Regions from separate parts of the Homo sapiens genome. Here all the other regions are linked to region 2. The links are contacts of gene promoters, found by promoter capture Hi-C in blood cells and fetal thymus (Javierre and others, 2016). All regions are on one chromosome and are shown on one strand. Each heading gives the region's core, a stretch centred on a gene start or on the middle of the fragment in contact. The rest is flanking DNA. Distances are from core to core; before and after follow the strand shown. Region 1 has its middle 5.2 kb from the start of KRT4. Region 2 holds the start of KRT84 (keratin 84). Region 3 has its middle 12 kb from the start of KRT2. Region 4 has its middle 3.5 kb from the start of KRT3. Region 5 has its middle 6.4 kb from the start of KRT77. Region 6 has its middle 4.4 kb from the start of KRT76. Region 7 holds the start of KRT1 (keratin 1).

Evidence for each region. Contacts are between HindIII fragments. The CHiCAGO score rates a contact against its expected background, and 5 or more counts as called.
Region 1: a contact is called between a fragment that was not itself captured here and the fragment with the promoter of KRT84 in region 2, in 3 of 17 cell types (endothelial precursors, total CD8 T cells and M1 macrophages). The highest score is 5.6, in endothelial precursors.
Region 3: a fragment that was not itself captured here is called in contact with the fragment with the promoter of KRT84 in region 2 in 1 of 17 cell types (M1 macrophages); the score reaches 5.6 in M1 macrophages.
Region 4: a contact is called between a fragment that was not itself captured here and the fragment with the promoter of KRT84 in region 2, in 3 of 17 cell types (non-activated CD4 T cells, endothelial precursors and M0 macrophages). The highest score is 6.6, in non-activated CD4 T cells.
Region 5: a contact is called between a fragment that was not itself captured here and the fragment with the promoter of KRT84 in region 2, in 1 of 17 cell types (endothelial precursors). The highest score is 5.6, in endothelial precursors.
Region 6: a fragment that was not itself captured here is called in contact with the fragment with the promoter of KRT84 in region 2 in 3 of 17 cell types (endothelial precursors, total CD8 T cells and M2 macrophages); the score reaches 6.3 in endothelial precursors.
Region 7: a contact is called between the fragment with the promoter of KRT1 here and the fragment with the promoter of KRT84 in region 2, in 2 of 17 cell types (M2 macrophages and M1 macrophages). The highest score is 6.4, in M2 macrophages.

What each region holds. Positions count from the first base shown.
Region 1 is chr12:52,817,922-52,820,679 of GRCh38, forward strand. No RefSeq gene overlaps it. Among named protein-coding and RNA genes, the nearest start is that of KRT4, 5.2 kb to the left of the region's middle. RefSeq lists an enhancer at 298-799. The HindIII fragment of the contact is 1,770 bases long and covers 573-2,342 here.
Region 2 is chr12:52,384,298-52,386,997 of GRCh38, forward strand. KRT84 (keratin 84) reads right to left here and starts at 1,355. Exons shown (of 9, transcript NM_033045.4): 1 at 743-1,355. The coding sequence starts at 1,288. The HindIII fragment of the contact is 9,508 bases long and covers 1-2,700 here.
Region 3 is chr12:52,662,829-52,665,574 of GRCh38, forward strand. No RefSeq gene overlaps it. Among named protein-coding and RNA genes, the nearest start is that of KRT2, 12 kb to the left of the region's middle. The HindIII fragment of the contact is 6,496 bases long and covers 1-2,746 here.
Region 4 is chr12:52,798,300-52,800,999 of GRCh38, forward strand. No RefSeq gene overlaps it. Among named protein-coding and RNA genes, the nearest start is that of KRT3, 3.5 kb to the left of the region's middle. The HindIII fragment of the contact is 5,805 bases long and covers 1-2,700 here.
Region 5 is chr12:52,708,580-52,711,279 of GRCh38, forward strand. No RefSeq gene overlaps it. Among named protein-coding and RNA genes, the nearest start is that of KRT77, 6.4 kb to the left of the region's middle. The HindIII fragment of the contact is 2,732 bases long and covers 1-2,654 here.
Region 6 is chr12:52,780,407-52,783,106 of GRCh38, forward strand. No RefSeq gene overlaps it. Among named protein-coding and RNA genes, the nearest start is that of KRT76, 4.4 kb to the left of the region's middle. The HindIII fragment of the contact is 1,580 bases long and covers 492-2,071 here.
Region 7 is chr12:52,679,011-52,681,710 of GRCh38, forward strand. It overlaps KRT1 (keratin 1), which reads right to left and starts at 1,397. Exons shown (of 9, transcript NM_006121.4): 1 at 748-1,397. The coding sequence starts at 1,338. The HindIII fragment of the contact is 12,025 bases long and covers 1-1,937 here.

The DNA.
Region 1 (2,758 bases), core at 208-2,707, 430 kb after region 2:
GAGTGACTGGCCCACACAGAATATGCAGGGAAAAAAATACACAGCAACTTATACAGCCCTGTACCTCATGGTCCACCAAGACAGCCATGGGGTCTGGCCAGCAGGCTGCAAGCTCTGCAGATGCAGCTCCGCTCCTTTTTGTCCTTACCCTCAGCACATGGTCAGTTGCTTGGTTGATGTGGCCCTGTCCTTACAAGTACCCAATAAGGTATGACACTGTCCTGAGGGGCCAGTTTTGTATCCTCCAATTAACTAAATCCAAATTAATTTCATGACAAACCCTACCATAAACCCAATCCAAACAAGAAGAAAGTTCTAGTCTAGAGCCACATTCTGTGTCCTTATTATTAAATCAGAATTGCAAGAAGCTCACAAAATCTTCAAACTGAGCCTGAGAAACCGAAGGTAGACCTAAGGAAGAACTTCCTATGCAAGAGCGCCTTTACACCCTAGAGTGAGAGAGAAAGAGAGATGAGTTTCTTTCCCTGAAAACGGGGAAAGACATTGCCTTCATATGTGGGCCAGAGGCAGGTGGCTGAACAAGGCGCCACTACCCAGCAGCCACAGCTGGAAGCTTGTCCCCTGCCCCTCCCCAGACCTCCACACGCAGATTCTGCTACTGCCCTCGGTGACCCTTCCTTGTTTGGCAGCTGTTCCCAATCTTTTCACAGAGGGATGAGCAGCCGACAGGGGTGTGGAGCCAGGCGGAGGGAGTGTTTGCTCAGGGCTTTCTGGGTAAGGGAGGCAAGCCCTTACATTCAGCCCTGGGATTAAGGGATCCTGAGGGCTTCTGTCACTCTCATCTCCAAACCCACTGTGTGGTGTGGGAAAGTGCTCCTGCCCTCCCTGGCCAGGCGGGCACCCTCACTCCATTCGGTCACCCAACCTCAACTGCCCCACCGGGCCTGAGTCATTCTTGGGGAACCAGAGACAACACGGGGATCAGAGATTCTGCAGAAAAGGGCCATCAGCGTTTTAGGGAGAGGCCAGTGAGGGCAATGAGAGGACGGGCACTCCTGAGAGCCAGGTATGGGGGTCTGTACCCAGGGGCTCCTCTTTCCCCGGGCCGGAGAGCTGCCCCTGCTGGCCTCCTACCCCAGGCATATACAGGCAGGGGCTTCCCAGCATGTTCTGGCAGCAAAAGCACCCTCATAAACAAAATCACGTGCACAGCCTCATGAGTAAAACAGATAAGGAGAGATGATCCAGTTGGTGCAGAGGAGGGACCATGATCCTTCTCACCTGCTGACCTCCCCCTGCACCCCTGAAAGCAGCCCTTAGGGTCCTCAGTTTGGAAACCCCTGGGTCTGGGCCATTCCCCTCCTTCGACAAGTATGTCTAAGCAGCGCATTATTGTTGGTGGGCCCCCCTGGGCTGCAGTATAATCTCTGAGGCTTTTTTCCATGACAATCAAAAGTTTCTATTGTTCAGTTTTTGAGCCCTAAATATAATTTTTTTGAGACAGGGTCTCCCTCTGTCACCCAGGCTGGAGTGCAATGGTGCAATCACAGCTCACCGCAGCCTCAACAGCCTCAAGTGATCCTCCCACCTCAGCCTCCCAAGTAGCTGGGACTACAGGTATGCATTATCAAACCCAGCTAATTTTTGTATTTTTTTGTAGAGGCAGAGTCTCACCATGTTGCCAGGCTTGTCTTGAACTCCTGGGCTCAAGTGATCCACCTGCCTCAGCCTCCCAAAGTGCTGGAATTACAGGCAGGAGCCACAACACCTGGCCTATGATCTCACTAAAACTGATTTTTTTTTTAACACTGCCACTAAGTTACCGTGGCTTTGGATACATTCTTCCCCTTCCTCAACCTGTTTTCTTATCTATGAAATAAAAAGTTTGGAGTCGATTACATCCAATGCCCCTTCTAGCTCCAGCATCCCCAGGTCTCCATTCCTTTTTCTATATAAGCAAAATAACCTGGTGCTTAAGAGCTTGGGCTATGGAACCAGATTGCTTGGATTCCACACCTAGCTCTGCTACTTCCTAGCTGTGTGACCTTAGGCAAGTTACTTAACCACTCTGTGCCTTATTTTCCTTATAGGCAAAATTAGAATGATAATAGTATTTATATTATAGGCTGTTGTGAAGAGAATCAGTTAAAGGCTTGACAGCAGTTCTGGCACACAGTTGGCACTCAGTGAGCATTAGCAAGTATTCCTCAAAGTGTTGTACATGGGGTGGACTATACTCCATCTGTCTGAGAAGGGAAGCTAGAGACCACCCAAGCTGGTGAGGCAGAGCTGACCCTAAACCGCTAGGCCTTTGTGTTCCTAAGCTGGAGGTTAGGGTTTGGCTGAAAATCCCTCTGCTGGCCTTCCACAGCCCTGGAGGAAGCTTTCTCAGGGCTCTTCGGGGCTCCTCTGAGGAGGACAGAGTGATCAGGCCGGAAGAGTGTGGGATGCATCCCAGCAACTGCCAGGAGCCCTAAGGTTGCCAAGGAAGGGAGCGGAGTGGTGACAGCCTCGGGTCGGGCCAACTGGTTTGGTAGCAGGGTGGGGAGGGCCTGAGAGGTGCAGGGTTGAGAGGCCAGCCAATTGGGGAATCACTTGGGTACAGCTTGAGGAGTGGGGTCCAGACTCAAAGTAGAGAACTGTGGAGATGAAGAGGAAAGAAGGTGATACCAAGAGACGCATGGAGGGAGGAGCAGTAAGATTTGGCGAGTGATGGAGGCAGGAGTAGGACGGAGGTAGCTTCTGGGGTGACAGGACAGAGGGCTTGAAATTGCAGCCCTGGACACTACTGACCCAC
Region 2 (2,700 bases), core at 105-2,604:
CCCAGCCCCTCATTTTAGAGAGGAAGAACCCAAAACTTACAGAGGTTATCCTTCATTCTCAGACATAACCATTCCATCTCCACATAGACATGGTGTGTGGGATGTCAGTTCTTTTGGGTTATCCACATCACTGTTCCCACTCATCTGCCTGGAAGCCAGTGACTACCAGTGGTCATTCCCTGCAATTTCCCTGAATCTAGGCAACTTGGCCGAATTTTGATACCCCATGTGGGGGTATGAATTCTTCTTCTTTTTTTAATTACTCAACTCCATTCTCTACTTTTCTAAGCCTGAATAGATGAGGCCACTCAGCCTCAGAAACTATGAAAACTTCATAAGGAACAAAAGGATCTCAAAGAATAAAACCTCTTAAGCATATACCAGCCAACACCTGGCTAAAGTCCCAGTGTTTCCAGCCTGTTTCAGAGACATTTCTAAGTGACCAGATGCAACATCTTAGTTTGTCGAGATGCCCTCGAGTTTGGCTGGATGCTCCTCTGTCCTCCAGAAGATATCAACACTGTCGGAATCTATCCCACCATGCAGCTCGTCCTCTGGCTTGGCCTTGCTCTGCAGCAGAGCAACCCATAAAGCATACCACAATGCCTGAGGTAGGCACTTGAAAGATCTGAGGTCAAGGTCAAGTCCCCAGAACCGGGCCAGTTCTTTTTAAGGGAAAGAGCACTCTAGCGCATTTTGGCTGTAATATTCCTAGACCCAGAGATTCAGCTATCATAGGTACCTTGTCAATGAAGGAGGCAAACTTGTTGTTGAGGGTCTTGATTTGCTCCTTCTCATCCTTCTTCACCCTCTGGGCATTGGGGTCAATCTCCAGGTTGAGGGGGGTCAGTAGGCTCTTGTTCACAGTCACAGCTGTGATAGATGGGGCTGCTGGGACTCCAACCCCTCCAACTCTGTAACCAAAGCCAGGGCCACCAAAGCCATAGCCAATGCCACTGCCAGCTCCAAAGCCCAGACCAACACAGCTGTCAGCCCTAGGCCCCAGACCAACACCTCTCCCATCACCAAAACCCATCCCACAGCCAGCACCAAAGCGGACTCCACAGTGGATGGGCCGAGAGCCTACAGCTGCTATCCGGGGTGAGTACGATCCAAAGGTGATGACACTCCGACTACCAAAGCTGCCAAGGCCCCGGAATCCAGGCCCACTCCAACAGGAGACAGAGTTGGCCCGGAAGCGATTCAGGTTCTGTGGTGTCATTGCTGAACAAGAGCTGAAGTTGCCCACCCGGTGACCAGAGCTGACTCGGTAGGAGCGGCAAGACATGATGGCTTCCTGGTTGGGAGCAAAAGAGCAAGTGTAGAATGGGTGAGCTGGAGCTGGGAGTCCCTCTGAGGCCAGTGGAACCCTTGCACCCCTTTTATGTGTGTGGTGATCTGAGGCTTGGCCCCATAAAAATGAAAAAATCCATTTGCAGGCATTTATGAGCTTGGGTAGTTAGCAGAAACTCTGCATGCCTATAACCTCCTTGACAATGAGTTAACTCAGACACACCTAGTCTCATTGGGATGAGGGCTGTAACAGCAAACCAATAAACATTAAAAACACATAAACATATAAACATTATAGTCTTTTTTTTCCCTATAAGTCTACCACAATTGCCATTAAGGGGACATTAATTTGCTTTGGTCATAAATGCAATAGGTTTTTTCACTGTGAGTGTGGCTAACCACCAGAAAGTTAGGATGGCGACAGCTCCAGCAAGAGGCTCACATGGGATGCATCCATGAAGATATAACCCCCTAAAGAGGTGGGAGTGTGTGCACATCTCCAAGTAAGAAGTGATATGGAGAAAATACAGTTTGTTGCATTTCTGCAAATCAATTAAATCATCAAAAAACCTTCTGCCATGTTTTATCCAATATGGCTGTTTAGTATACAAGAGTTGAATCTACAGTAAAGCTCATTTGGGCTAGTGTAGACACATCTGTGATTTGAGACACTCAGAGATATTCATTCATTCTACAGTTTTAGAGTGCCTGCTATGTATCCAGCAGTGTGCTTGCTGCTGAGGGTACAGAGATTACAAAGACAGTCTCTATCTTCATGGTAGTAGGGGAAGATTTATCTTAAATTTTTTTTTTTTTTTTAGAGACATGATCTAGTTGCCCAGGCTGGTCTTGAACTCCTGGGCTCAAGTGATCCTCCCGCCTCCGCCTCCCAGATAGCTGGGACTACAGGCATCCACCACCATGCCCAGCAGAACATTTATCTTGAGGATTTCCAGCAGTCAACACTTTGTGGCATGATTTGAGGCCAAAGCATTGGAAAGTTTCTGTATAGAAAGCTAACTACATGATTTTTAGCCCCCAAATATACCATAGGTGTGATTTATGGGCCTGTCCATTTAGGTTCCTTGAATTATTGATGAATCTTTGGTTAGGATAGAGAGACACAAAGCAATATACATCTGGATAGAAAAGGAAAAGTTCTCAGCAGCTGAATATTATCATTGTTAGCAATATTGCAGCTCTTTTAGGACCCTGAGCCAGGCTGGTGTTTACCTTTTCTATTCTAGTGCATCCTTTGCCCAGGGGAACTCATGTTTGACTGGACGCTTGAGATTCTTTGGGATGCTTGCAATTCCACTTGGAAGGGGATGTATGCTTTTGACCAGAAGCATCCAGCTCATTTGTGCGGTATTTTCTTTTTCCAGCTATCAGCTGTATGTCTAAGGG
Region 3 (2,746 bases), core at 242-2,741, 280 kb after region 2:
GACAGCACTGAATTTCAGAGCCAGAAAAGGCCTCAGGTAGACCAAAGTCAGGGGCTTAATAAATACTGCAGTCAACGCTCAATTACCCATAATAATGGAAAATAGGAAGCAAATAGGAGTTGTGTCCTTTACAACTTCTAAATCTGTCATTGCCACACTTCCCCCAGGGCTGTTAAGGCATCAGACCAACTGCTCCTCCTATTCACATCCCTGCAGATGGCCAGGAAAGGAGCTAATAGGGTGGTTACAGGGGCAAGATGGTCCAATCCTTGTTTTATCAGACTCCTAGTAACCACAGCTTGATGACTGTCCTGCTATAGGACAGACTGCATTTGCCCAGGTCCTGCCAGCTGTGCACCCCTCCATGGTGCCACATGGCAGGTCAGAAGTGCCAATGAGGTGGCATGAGGCTCCTGCCACACCACCTTTCCTCAAAGCCTTATGTCTTCATCATGGAAACCTTGTTTATCCATTACCAAGCCAAGAGAGAGGATTACTGAGAAGAAGGCAGCCAAAAACAGGGCACTCCCTTTGGAACCCAGCGGGGTTTCTCCGATCCCAAGCACACCTTAGTAGTTAGCACAGTGTGAATGAAGACAACCAAATGTTCATCTGTGAATGCTAATAATGAATGGTTACAACTACAGGATCAGCTTGTTCTTCCTTCAGGGACATGGAGGCAGATATCATGTTCTCCATTTGCCTAAAATGCTCTTCCAGCTCCACCAGGTGTAGAACAGAAGGAAATCAACTGTGCTGGCATTAGCAGAAACTTAAGACTGATAACAAGAGGGACTAACCAACTACTCCATTGCATACAGAGTAGGAATGTGGAGGGTAGGAATGTCTGGGTTGTTGGGTCTGGAAAGCTAAGCTAAGAACCTGCCTTGCCACACACTTTCCCACTGTCCATATAATTGAGGTTAATTAAGGACCTAGAGCTAGGGAAGGGGCAAGATGGCCTCACCTCAGACCTTGTCTCATGCACACCTCTGCATGCAGACAGGTGACTACAAGCCAAGATGGAGCTTGCCTCACGGGATCTTCTTCCCAAACAAGAGTTCCCTTGCATTGGAACTGGTAACATCCCCAGGGATCCCACCTACTTCACCCAAATTACCATCAACCCACCCTCCAAGACCCAACTCAACTCAGATGTTCTCTCCCCTTGACTGATGACCCTGGTGTGATGTGGCCCCCTCCTTCCTGTATTCCTCCAGTGCTTACTCTGTCCAGTTCATTGACCAACAAAAACTCACTAATCACTGCAGTAGAATACACATTCTGCTGCATCCTCAGGATGAAAAGGTAAAGAAGACACAGTCCTTGTCCTCAAGAAATTCATTATTCCATAGGCACTCATTTCTGTGGAGTAAATATACCTACCATGGTTGATCTCAAGCAATCAACACGGTGTTACTGAACATGGAGTTAGGAACAAAAGCAGGCAATTGGCTTTCATAAGCTGGTGCGGGAGGGTTCCAGGACACCGCTGGACATCATATGCCAGAAGCAAGGAAACATAAATGGAAAAGTGAGGCAGGAGTCAAGGAAGGAGGAACTATGAACTGGCTTTTAAAGGATGAATTCGAGTCTACACACAGAAAAGGGAGAAAGGAACTCCAGGAAAATGGAGAGACATTTGCAAAGACCTAACAGCATAAACATGTGTAAAAGTTTGGTGTATTTGGAGAATGACAGTACCCTCTCCCCTAAGCCTGACCCAGATGAGAAACTGGTTGACACTCAACCTCTAACAGATGCCCATGACAGGTGTCCTGTGCACGTTCTCAGCCGGGACTCTGATGGCCCTGCCACCTGCCTCCAGCCTGCCTCCATCCAGCTCACCCCAACAGGGCCCGGCCTCTGTCCCATGCAACCTCAGGAGAATCTTCTCTATGTCTGTAGGTGTCTGGGCAAAGGACAGCTGTCTTGAGGAGAAATCATACCAAACAAGGTTTTAAACTAAGGTCAGATGTCCTCATGCATGTTTAATCATCCTGTTCTATATTTGGTGACCTTAAGGACAGGTCTTAAAGAGATGACACCCAGTCTTCTATCCCAAAGGCCACTCGTCCCAAGGGCATAGCTGGCAGCACCTGTCTATGGCTGTGGCTGAATTTCGACGGCCCTTTGCTCATCTCCCTAGTAAAAAGTAAGGCACTTGCTGAAGTCAAGAATCCCAGGGCATCCCTAGAAAGACCTCAGAGGCGAGGCCATCCTGACTTAGCTTTCCCTGTCCAGTTCTCCTAGGACCTACTGTTGTGACATCCACTTTCGCCCCATCAGAAATTCTCCACTGGTGAAGCATGTGATAGACTATATTCCCACCCCACCCAGGGACCCCACTTAGGAGAACTGCTACCCCCTGAGGTCTTTCCTAAGAGATTGGGCCCTAAATCCTCCCAGTCCCTATCCGCTCACCTTGCTAGTTACTTGTCTCGCTAGGTAGGTATGGTCACCAAGGGCCCTCCCTGGCCCAGGATTGGTCAGACATAGCTACTCCTGATGGCCAGTTGAACTCAGCCTGCCAGAGACAGCTCCATTATAACCCCTTTACCGAAGGAAATATGGTCTAGGCAGGTGAAAAGACACCCAGTAGAGCCAATAAATGCACATTTCAGACCTTTGAATGTGCTTTTCTAGGACAACATTCCTCACCCAAGGGGCCCAAAATGAAGGACCCCATGTGTTGTTTTGTTGCGGGATTCTTAACCCATTTTGTCGGAAATAATCAGAAATAAAT
Region 4 (2,700 bases), core at 77-2,576, 410 kb after region 2:
ATATCTGCCAGTGTTTTAAGAAACATATCACAAGGCCAAATGTGGTGGCTCACGCCTGTAACCCCAATACTTTGCAAGGCTGAGGTGGGCAGATTGCTTGAGCCCAGGAGTTTCAGACCAGCCTTGGAAACATGGCAAAACACCATCTCTATGAAAAAAATACAAAGATTAGCCGGGTGTGGTGTCATGTGCCTGTAGACCCAGGTGCTTGGGAGGCTAAGGTCGGAGGATCACTTGATCCTGGGAGGTCAAGGCTGCACTGAGCTATGATTGCACCATGGCACTCCAGCCTGGACAACAGAACAAGACCCTTCTCAACAAAAGAAAAAGAAAAAAGGAAACATATCACAAAAATTAGACCATATTTTTCCTTATAATATCTAAGAGAGCAGGATGGAGGACCTGCCTTTATGCCAGACAGAAATGAGGCTGCTGCTTGGTCTGGTGTGGGGTCTAGAGTCCAGGGCAATGAGTCTCTAGGAATTCCTAAACCCATAGTGATTCAGGGTACTTAGTGCCCCAATGGGGGGAGATCTTAGTCATTGCCAGAGCCCACTGATTCTGAGCCATGCTTGTCATTCCTTTAGAGGGAATTATCTTGGAGAAGAATCTTTGAGAAGCAACATCACAACCACTGCTGTCATCAGCTAGTCCTGGGTCGGGGACCTCCCCAGCAGATGGTGGAAGAAAAAGGAAGAAGGGCATAATCTATACTTACTCTTGGGGTTGGGATAGCAGAGAAGACATGGCTTGACCTTTGAGAGGACAGGGAGCAAAACAAAGATTGGGGAATACATTCGTGGGACTAGATTGTCAATTCTGATCAGAGCTGTGAGTGAAGGAAGTGGTGGAAGGGGAGGAGATAATCAGTGAGTTGAAATTCTTATTGGTTGGGCCCATCCCTCTAAACTTGTAGGGCCTAATAAACACTTTGAGAAAACAGAGTTGGTTTACAGTCATCCCCAACACTTGAATTATCTGAAGTTTATTAACTAAGCGCCCTAAGTGTTTACTCCCTGGAGAAAAGAGTGAGTCACTGGATTGCAATGTGTAAAATCGAGACTCATAGGGTGCTACGGCCAGGAGGCTCTCCAGTCCACTCCTCTACCTCGAGGCAGAATTCACCTGGCCACTCCTACTCTTCAGGATCCCCATGGAAGGCGATTCATCAAATCTCCTAACTTGCCCAGGCCAGCAAGACCCCACCCTGACCCAAGGAAGGTCTTCAAGGATCTAGCTTTCGTGCCTTCCACTCCATTTCATGGGAGCCTAACTCCTCTTAAAGGATCAGTGAAGTTGTGGTCAGCAGCAGGAGGCCCAGTCACCTGTCCGTCATGGCATGGCACCCATACCTCTCTGCTTGTGAAGGCCCCTTTTAACACACAAAAAATTACATTGACCTTCACACATGTCAGAACTCATACTTCCAGTATCCTTTGAGAATATACATTTTTTACTATGAATTTAGCAACACTTTTAAATAAAAGTGCAGTTCATAGTCATATACATTTGAAAGTGGTAATACATATACATAAAAAGACACATTATTCACTCAGTCGAGAGACACTTGCATCCATGTGCATTCTCAGAATCCTTGCAGTCCTGACACAACAGCAACCCTAACTGGGGCCTCTCAGCCTCAGGTCTCAAGGTCCTGCCCCTTCCACGGCTGGACACCTGCCCCCAGCTGAGATTCCCCACTGAGCACTGTTACCACCTGTCTTCCCTGCCTTTGTGTCCATCAGCCTGTGGCCCTGGCAGGCCTTCAGCAGATGGGAACTGAGTTGCGATGAATTTGCTCTTGCCTGGCCTTCCATAGTAAAACACACACACTCCCCTGGTTTCTGTATCACAACCCTTCCAATATTAGAAAATACTGTGGAATTCACAGACACCAACCTCCCAGTTAGATAGACCCAGTTGTTTCTCCCAGTCCTCAGTACAGATGGTTTCCGGGAATCTTCTCTGCACCCACTTTAATATGTTAATGGACCTCTTAAAACTACAGTGCCTTGCTAAGATAGGATACTTAAGGTGGCTTCATGTGCACCAGAACTAATAAGAAGCCCCTTCCTGTCTGTGATGGGGGCACTGTGCTTCTTTCAATGCAAGCTAAGATTCTGTTCCCTTCTTTAGCTCTTGACTTCCATCAATCCTGCCTGGGGAGGAGGAATGGTAAGGCATGGGTTTGTTGGTGGTGGGGGCAGGGGGTTGTTTTTGTTTTTTTGTTTTTGTTTTGAGAGAGAGAGAGAGAGCCCCTCACTCTGTTGCTGAGGCTGGAGTGCAGTGGTGCAATCTCAGCTCACTGCAACCTCAACCTCCCAGGCTCAAGCCATCCTCCCACCTCAGCCTCCCAAGTAGCTGGGACACTGGCATGCACCACCATGCCCAGCTAACACTTTTTTTATTTTTTTTGTAGAGACAGAGTCTCTCTATGTAACCCAGGTTGGTCTTGAACTCCTAGGCTCAAGCAATCCGCCCACTTCAGCCTCCCAAAGTGCTGGGATTATAAACATGGGCCACCATGCCAGCCAGCTTCCTAGTTTTAAATAACTCACTTCCTTGTCCTGCTGTAAGAATAAACTGAAGGGACAGCATTCACAAAGCACTTACAGAGAAAATAAACATAACAGTAAAAATGAAAAAAAAAAAAGGTTTGCCCTGAATAAGCCTCTATTTACATAAGATTCCTCTGCATGG
Region 5 (2,700 bases), core at 39-2,538, 320 kb after region 2:
GAATTTTTAAAAGGTGGTTTTAATGTGCAGCAAGTTTGGAGACCACTGACCTGGAGGAAACAGGACAAATGAAACAGCCTCTTTAGATTCCATTCAGTCTAAGGACACAGATAGGAGTAACAATCATTATCATAATAGTGAACTTCACCAGGTGATTTCCATGGACCATGCACTGTGCTGTCTATAACATGGAAGGTCTCGTGAAATCTAAATACCAACATCATAAGGAAGATATTCTTACTATGTTCATTTTGCAAATGGAGAAAGTGAGACTTGGAAAGAGAATCTTGTCAAAGAATACACTAATGAAAATAGTGGAATGGAGATTTGAACCCGCGCATTCCCACTTCAGAACCTACATGTATTGCAGAAGAGATGGGGTCGTTGGAGAGAGATGTGCCCGCTTCCTCCTCTCCCCACCTGCCACCTTAAAAGGAAAGTGGGAAGTTAGTTGAAGGCTGCAGCTCACCCAGCCCATCTCCCAGTTACTGAAACCCAGGGCTGCCAAGAAGGTGAGGCCCAGAGCAACTATCAGCCACCTGGATCACAGTTCCAGACAGCAGCGGGAAGCAGGGTTCAGAAGAGCTGCTGGCATGACCAGCAGGAGCAGCTCCCAAAGCTCTATCCCCCACCTCACCCTACATTTCCCAGGGTCTGGAGGTGGATATCACAGAGGTGTGTCAGGGGCGTGGGGCTGGAAAAAGGAAGGGAGAGAGACTCTCACTCACCAGTCCCCACCAAGAAGAGAGTGGAGAGCTGCAGCCCCGGTCTAGGAATGGGGGCCTTTAACCTCCTTGAAATGAGAGCCTTTTGACCTGTCGTCAGCACAGGGGAGGCAGTGATGTGACACATATCGGAGAGAAACCTATTGGAGCTGAATAGAAGCTGCTAGACTTGGCTTCCCCACCCTTGGCCCACTCTTCTTCCTGCGTAACAGCATCACAGCCAAACATATGATGGACGGTATCAGCCCAGTCCTTCATTTTACAAGGAAGAAATGGGTACAAAGACAGGGACTTGGCCAAAGTTACCCAAAAAAGTTGGTGGTGCAGATAGAATGAGAACTTGGCTACCCTCCCCCGAATTCAGAAAGAATAAGGAGGCCTATGTGAAATTCCCAGGTGCCTCTGTGCTCCTGCAGCCTGGGAGAGATGACTATATGGGGCGTTCCACCTTCAATCTCTAACAAGCCTGCACGCAGGCATGAGAAGGTGGTGCCAGGCACACAGGAACATCCCTGGTGAATCCTCTGATTTCTGGGTTGGGGTGTGTGTTTGGGGCAACACCTAGGGCCTTAAGCTCCTACTGAGGCCCAAAACTAGCCTGGACACCACTTTGACATCCCTTTAACTAGAATCTCAGTGTCTGCCTAGAGCATAAGAATCGGGCAGTCTCCTTCCTTCTCGGCAAACCCAATAGGTGCTTTTGGGCCTGGATATTGTCTAGAGGCCTCACTAAGGGCAGCTTGCAAATTCCCACGGCAAAGGTCCAGAGACAATATTGTGCCAAGCGTGTCAAAGCTCTTCCATCCAACATACTGGAAGTCATGACTATTTATACAATCATTTATTTATTTATTTATACAACCATTTATTTGTTTATAATTCACCCAGGCTGAAATGCTCACTGCAACCTCCACCTCCCGGGTTCAAGTGATTCTTGTGCCTCAGCCTGGCAACTCTTTTGTCTCTGAAGCAAAGGGAGCAGCTAGGCAGGTGTGGCCCCAAAGGAAAATAAGGCTACAGGTTAGACTTGGATTGAATTCCAAAAGAAACAGTGAGGTCCCAGCGGAGGAATGGTGCTGTCTGGGCAGAGAATGCTTCTATATGTTGGATCAAAGAGGACGGGCCAGTCTCAAGGTTACAGGGGTAGTTAGTGGTGGGGTGGGACCAGCATTCCAAGTCCCTGAGGGTAATATGAGACCTGCCATCAATTCCAGGTTCGTGTCTCACTTGACCATGATGGGAGAGATTACAGTGCTTTATAACCATAAGGAATTTGCAGTGTATTATTCTCTTCATTTAAAGAATAGACAGGTTCCTGAAACACTGGCCATAATTAGTAATGACCTTTTATTGAGCTCTTACAATGTGCCAAGAATTAAACAGATGACATGATTCCATCCACACAACTGCATTTTACTGATGACTTTTGGGTGAGGGGTCTGGAGGGTGGCTCAAGGTCACACACTCCTGGTAAGGAGTGGGCCCAGATTACACCTAGCAGCTGGGTTCCAAAGCCTGAGAGTTTCTTGCTGTACTATCTTATCTTCTGCTTTATGGGGCAATTTAGGAGGGCTTTGAGGTTAGGCCTTCTGGAGTTTGAATCCTGGTGCCATCCCTTCTAGTTACATGACCTTGGATAAGTTCATTCATCTCTCTGCGCTTTCATTTCCTCTTTTGTGAAGCAGAGGCCATAACACTGCCTACCTCACAGGGCTGTGAAGATTAGATGGGTTAATTCAGAAAAAGCTCAGCACATGTCAGGCAAATAACAAGAGATCATCTACTTTAGCAATTATTACATTATTACAAAAGTAAATTTCTATTAACCAAACTGCATTTTCCATCCAGCTTCCCTTAAATTAGAAAGTCACCATAAGCAGGAAACTGTGGCCCTGTAATATATTGTAAATCATATAAAAGATGCAGACAAGCTTTTCTTTAATCATCTATTTAAAGGAAGATGGCAATTTATTGA
Region 6 (2,700 bases), core at 32-2,531, 400 kb after region 2:
TGCCAGAACATTCTGTGTAAAGCTTGCCAGATGGCTGAGCACCCTGGATTTTTATTTCCCCACCTATAAAATTGGGGGCACTAAAACCAAGGAGTTATTCCCTCTAACCAAATTGCTCTCTGGTAGTCAACTGCAGTGAGAAGACTTCAGATTGCCTGTAACATAATTATGAGTGGAGGAATGCATCATGAGACAGTAGTCATTATCCTTGGCCAAAGTGAGCAGTCATCCCTCTCCACCACCATCTGCTGAGGATGAGGGAGCCATGGCTGCTGCCTCTTTCTCCATGGAGGTTCGCAGATCCCATTTTCAAGATAATCACCAATTTGTTCTCAAAAATAAAAAAAGAATAATTAACGTTCTGGGTATGCTGCCCCTGGACTAGGAATTAGCATTCTTTTCTTGTTGAAATAAAAGCTTGTCACTAGTGAAGCAATTTTAACCAATGAACAGTAAAAATAATTACCATATAGAGCAAGATTTATAGTGAAAGCTTGATAAAGAAGCAAACATCTAAGTACAACTAAGTCCTTATGTTACTAAGGTCTTAGCTGTTAGCAACCACAATTTGTTCTGATTCTGGTCTTATCTCTACACTTGATTAAAATACACACCAGCTCACCCCTCATTCTTTATCTGGTACTTGGATCTCTCCCAGGGCTTATGCAGGGCAGAATTCTATCTCCCAAGATGGCCCTGATTAAAAGGTTCTGTGATTACATAAATTTGGGAAATGAAAAATCTATAGCTCTTTCCTGGGATTTTAGTAAAGTTGTTTAGTATATTAAAAGCCCAAAGAAGTCCTATAGAAAATAATGTCTTTGCCTTAATTTAATCACAGCTTCCCAAATTTAACAACAAAATCTTTCTATCTTAACATCTACTAACATGCTGTCAAGTATACTCGGGAAACGCTAGTCCAACTAGCCATCCAGGATGGATGAGAATGTGCAGATAGACCAGTGCAGATAGACCAATCAGAGGATTAGGGCATAAGGAGACATCCTCATTCCTGGAGAAAGAGCACTTGCTCCAAGTGAGCTCCTCATCCCTGGAGAGAAAGCACTTGCTCCAAGTGAGATAGCAGGAAACTGAGAGCAGACTAAGGCCTGGGGTTGAAGATGCAGCAAGAAGGGCACTGGGACGCCGAAAACTGAACAGGTTCTCTAAAGACAAGCTCTCCTGTCAATGAATATTTCTCACCAATAAATGGATTTGGCTGAATATTTCCAAAAACCGTGGATATTTCATGGGCATGCTGGATTTTCTGGAACTCAAATAACTTCATCTCCTCCTCTCTTCCCTTGCAGCTTGAAAGAGTGGAAAATATGGAAGCCTTGGAATTAGACGAGCCTGTGTTCAGATCCCAGCCTTGCCACTTTCCAGTTGCATGGCATCAGGCAAGACATTTTACCCTCTGGACCTCAGTTTCCCATTCAGCAAATGGGAGTTAGCACAGCCTCCTCATAGAGTTGCAGTGGGGACTGTAGGAGGTAAAGTTGGAAAACCCTTACACAAAGCAGGTGCTCAACACTTGGCAGCCCTTGTGATGATGATGTCAATGTAGGAAGCCCTCCTAGAAGGTGTCAGTTTGGAAGCTGAAGAGGAAGGAGGAGTTCTAAGGGGTAGCCCAGTTTAGGGTCAAGGCAACAGTGAAGTCTTTGATTATTTTGCAACAAGTTGCAAAGAATCATACTGTCTGTATTGAGAATTACATAAAAGCCATTTTCCCATGTCTGGCCAAGCCATTTTCCCACTACAGGGCCTCGTCAGTAATGCAATCTATCAATCAGCAAATACTTATTGATCTACTACATACTTTTTAGAGGTGTGGGGACTATGTTTCAGTGAAAACAATTTCCTCTTTCAAATCTTAACTCCTATTGCCCATCTGTGAATAGAATTTTAAAACAGCTAACATTGACTGCCTAACATATACAAGTCACTGACAGGTTGTTTACATGTGTCATTTCTAATTGTCACAAAAACTTTGTAAGGTAGGAATTTTCATTCACATTTTACAGATAAGGGCATGAGGTTAATTAACTTGCCTCAAGTCAATTCACTTGCAAGCTTGGATTTTAATCAGACTGTCCAATCCCAAAGCCTGTCGTAAATTCGTGAATGCTTTTCTTCTGCATAGACTTTCAGCAAGTCAAATTACACCATCCCAAAGTGAAAAGTCCACTTTGACATGTAAAGAACCCACCAATATTCTCTCCACCTGACCACCACATGATAGGTTGGACACCAGCCATGTGCAACCTACCATGCTAGCCAGGGCCACCAAGGCACTGGTCAGGACAGTCTCTCAGGGACAGAACACATGGGTGTGCATGGAATTTATAGATGACAAGAGCCGCTCCATCATCTGCAATGTAAAAGGTCTTCACCCTGTTGGAGAAAGAGCAAGAGGCCAGGAGTTTGCGCTGAGCTTAGCTGCTTGCTGGGTCTTAGATGTTGGAGTTGACCACTTGGCCCACAGGAATGATTAGCCACAATCTTCTCTTTCACTTTTTTTTTTTTTTTTTTTTTTTGAGACGGAGTCTCACTCTGTTGCTCAGGCTGGAGTGCAGTGGCACAATCAAGGCTCACTGCAACCTCTGCCTCCCAGGTTCAGGAGATTCTCCTGCCTCAGCCTCCCGAGTAGCTGGGATTACAGGCGCCTGCCACCACACCCAGCTAATTTTTGAATGTTTA
Region 7 (2,700 bases), core at 147-2,646, 290 kb after region 2:
AGGTGCATGGTATTTAAGAGATTTGCCTTCCAAAATTTTGTTAGGTATATTACCATAAAAACTGGTTTGCATCCCCAGGACACACACACATTTCAAAAGTATATCAGGAAAATTCAAAATTGGATTTGAAATTTGTTGTGGATAACCTTGGATTGGCACTATTAATGATTAAGCAAAAAATTAAAAAAATGGTTTATCTGAGTTTTTTAGAGCTGATTTTTGGAGATATTAGTATAAAAAAACTCTAGCCTCATCCAGTACCAATGTAAAATTATTAGAAGGCAGAGCTCCCCTCTGACAGCAAAAGATGTTTGGCACTGACTGACCACATGTTTTCTGCTACAATAACACTCTATACTATGTTCACACTCAACTCCCTTTCTATGGTTAGGAAGACCTTTCCAGGGTTCTCACTTGCACCCTGGAAAGTTCAGTTAGCCCCATTTCTATTATCTTCATTCAACAGATATGAGTCCCAATTCCGCTCAAGAGCTGAATAAAAAGCACTTAAATGTTAATGTCACACTGACCCACCTTTAGGTCGACCACGAACCCTTTGTCAAAGAGAGAGTCATTAACACCATTCACAAGCATACATCTAACATATCTCCTAGGAGACCATTCCACAAAACATCCTTTTAATCATGTAAACATGGAAACTTGAGGTTCAAACCTACTGTGTTTTGACTGCACCAATCCCAAGTGGACCAGCGGCAGCCCTACCAGTGCAATGAGAGAGAAACTCACCTTGTCAATGAAGGAGGCAAATTGGTTGTTGAGTGACTTGATTTGCTCCCTTTCTCGAGACTTCACCTTTTGGATCTCAGGGTCAATCTCCACATTGAGGGGCTGAAGAAGGCTCTGGTTGATAGTGACTTCTTGTATGCCACCAGGAGGGCAGACAGGACCATAACCACCCCCATATCCACCACCCCCAAAGCCACCTCCACCAAAACCACCACCACCACTGCCAAAACCACCAAAGCCACCACCCCCAATGCCACCTCCACCAAAGCCACCACCACCAAAGCCACCACCACCAAAGCCACCACCACCATAACCACCACCAAAGCCACTACCACGTCCACCTCCTCTAGCCACACTTATGGAGATGCTTTTACTGCCACCAAGGTTAACAAGACTCCGACTTCCAAATCCACCACCAGCACCAAAGCTACCACCACCACCACCACAGCTTGAAAATCTCCCACCACCTCCTCCACTGCGGCGTGTGGAGCTGCTGGTGGTCCTGCGCTGGTAGTTGATGATCCCAGCAGAGCCAGAGCTGAAGCCCCCTCCACTTCGGTACCCAGACCTGGAACTAAACTGTCGACTCATGTTGACTTAGAGAAAAGTAGGAGCAAGGTAGAGTAAGGGAAGGAGCTAAACACTCCTCTACCCCAAGCATAGAGACTTCCCCTTATATACAGGGAAGAAATTGGGCTTGGTCTTCTAGAGTCAGCGGAGATGCAGTGCCTGTCAAGGGTTTGGCTTGCCTGCAGCCATACAAGATTTTTACGAGCCTCAACAATACGATAAACACTACACACCTAGCTCCCAGGATGGGCTCTCAAAATTGCTGTGCATGCAAGATTGGTTCATGTGGTAATTATTTTATCACACAAGATCTTCCTTCAAGCATTTGTGGCTTTGGGAAAACAGGACCCCACATCTGATACCTGGTGTTTCTTGGTAGGATTTCATAACCCCCATCAAAAAGGCATGAAAGTTTCTATTCTCACCTTGCCTTTGTGAGCTACCAAGCACACTCTCTTACCATGCACAGCAGGTGCAATTCCCCGTGCTTGGATCTCAGAAGGAGCTCTCTGGCCCATTTCTAAGATCTTCTTTCCAAACTCCAGAGCTCACTCAGTTACAACCTGACAAAGAGAAAGGGCTTTAATAACTAAAAAATTAAAAGGTCTTTCATAAATATAAGCTTTATAAATATACCACAGTGATTAATTAAAGGAAGAGAAGCTGTCATTGAACAAGATGGATGAGTGGGTGGTCTGGAAGAACCAGAAGGGAGAGACATTTTTTTTCTCTGTTTCTCAGTTATTCCTTTTCTTGTTTCTTTTCTTCAAAGATAGAGCAGGAGACAGACACCAGCAATAGAAAACAGGTAGCAATGGATAGCATGCAAACGCCCTTGAGTGAAAAAGCCCACAGAGCAGTGAGACGAGTAAATAGAAGCTCTAGGACATTTTGTAAAGCACAGGGGTGGAGGTGAGGCTTGATAGGTGATTCAAGCCTCACACTGGACTGCAAAGAGAGAGAGATAAATGCAGATTTGGAAGGGAAGACAATGAGAGGTGTCTGGAGAGCCTTATATGAGAAGTTTAAATTGTTTCTGGAGGTGATAATAATGATAATACCTAACATGTATCAAAAACTGACCATGTACCAGGCACTGTTCTACGTAGCACATATGTATTAACTTGCTTAATTTTCACAACTTTGAGATAGATGCTATTTTTCTCCCCATTTGTAAAATGAGGAAGCAGAGACACAGGGGTTGAATAACGTGATCAAGTCTACACAGTTGGTAAGTGGGGTGCCTGCGATTTGAAGCAAGAATACCTAGCTATCATGTGCAAGATCCTAAACAGCATGTTGTACGACAGCACAGCAGCCGAATTCAAGTCATTCTGCCTGCTGTGTGTAAAGCCAGACAGCACAGGAAGCGCCCCACCACAG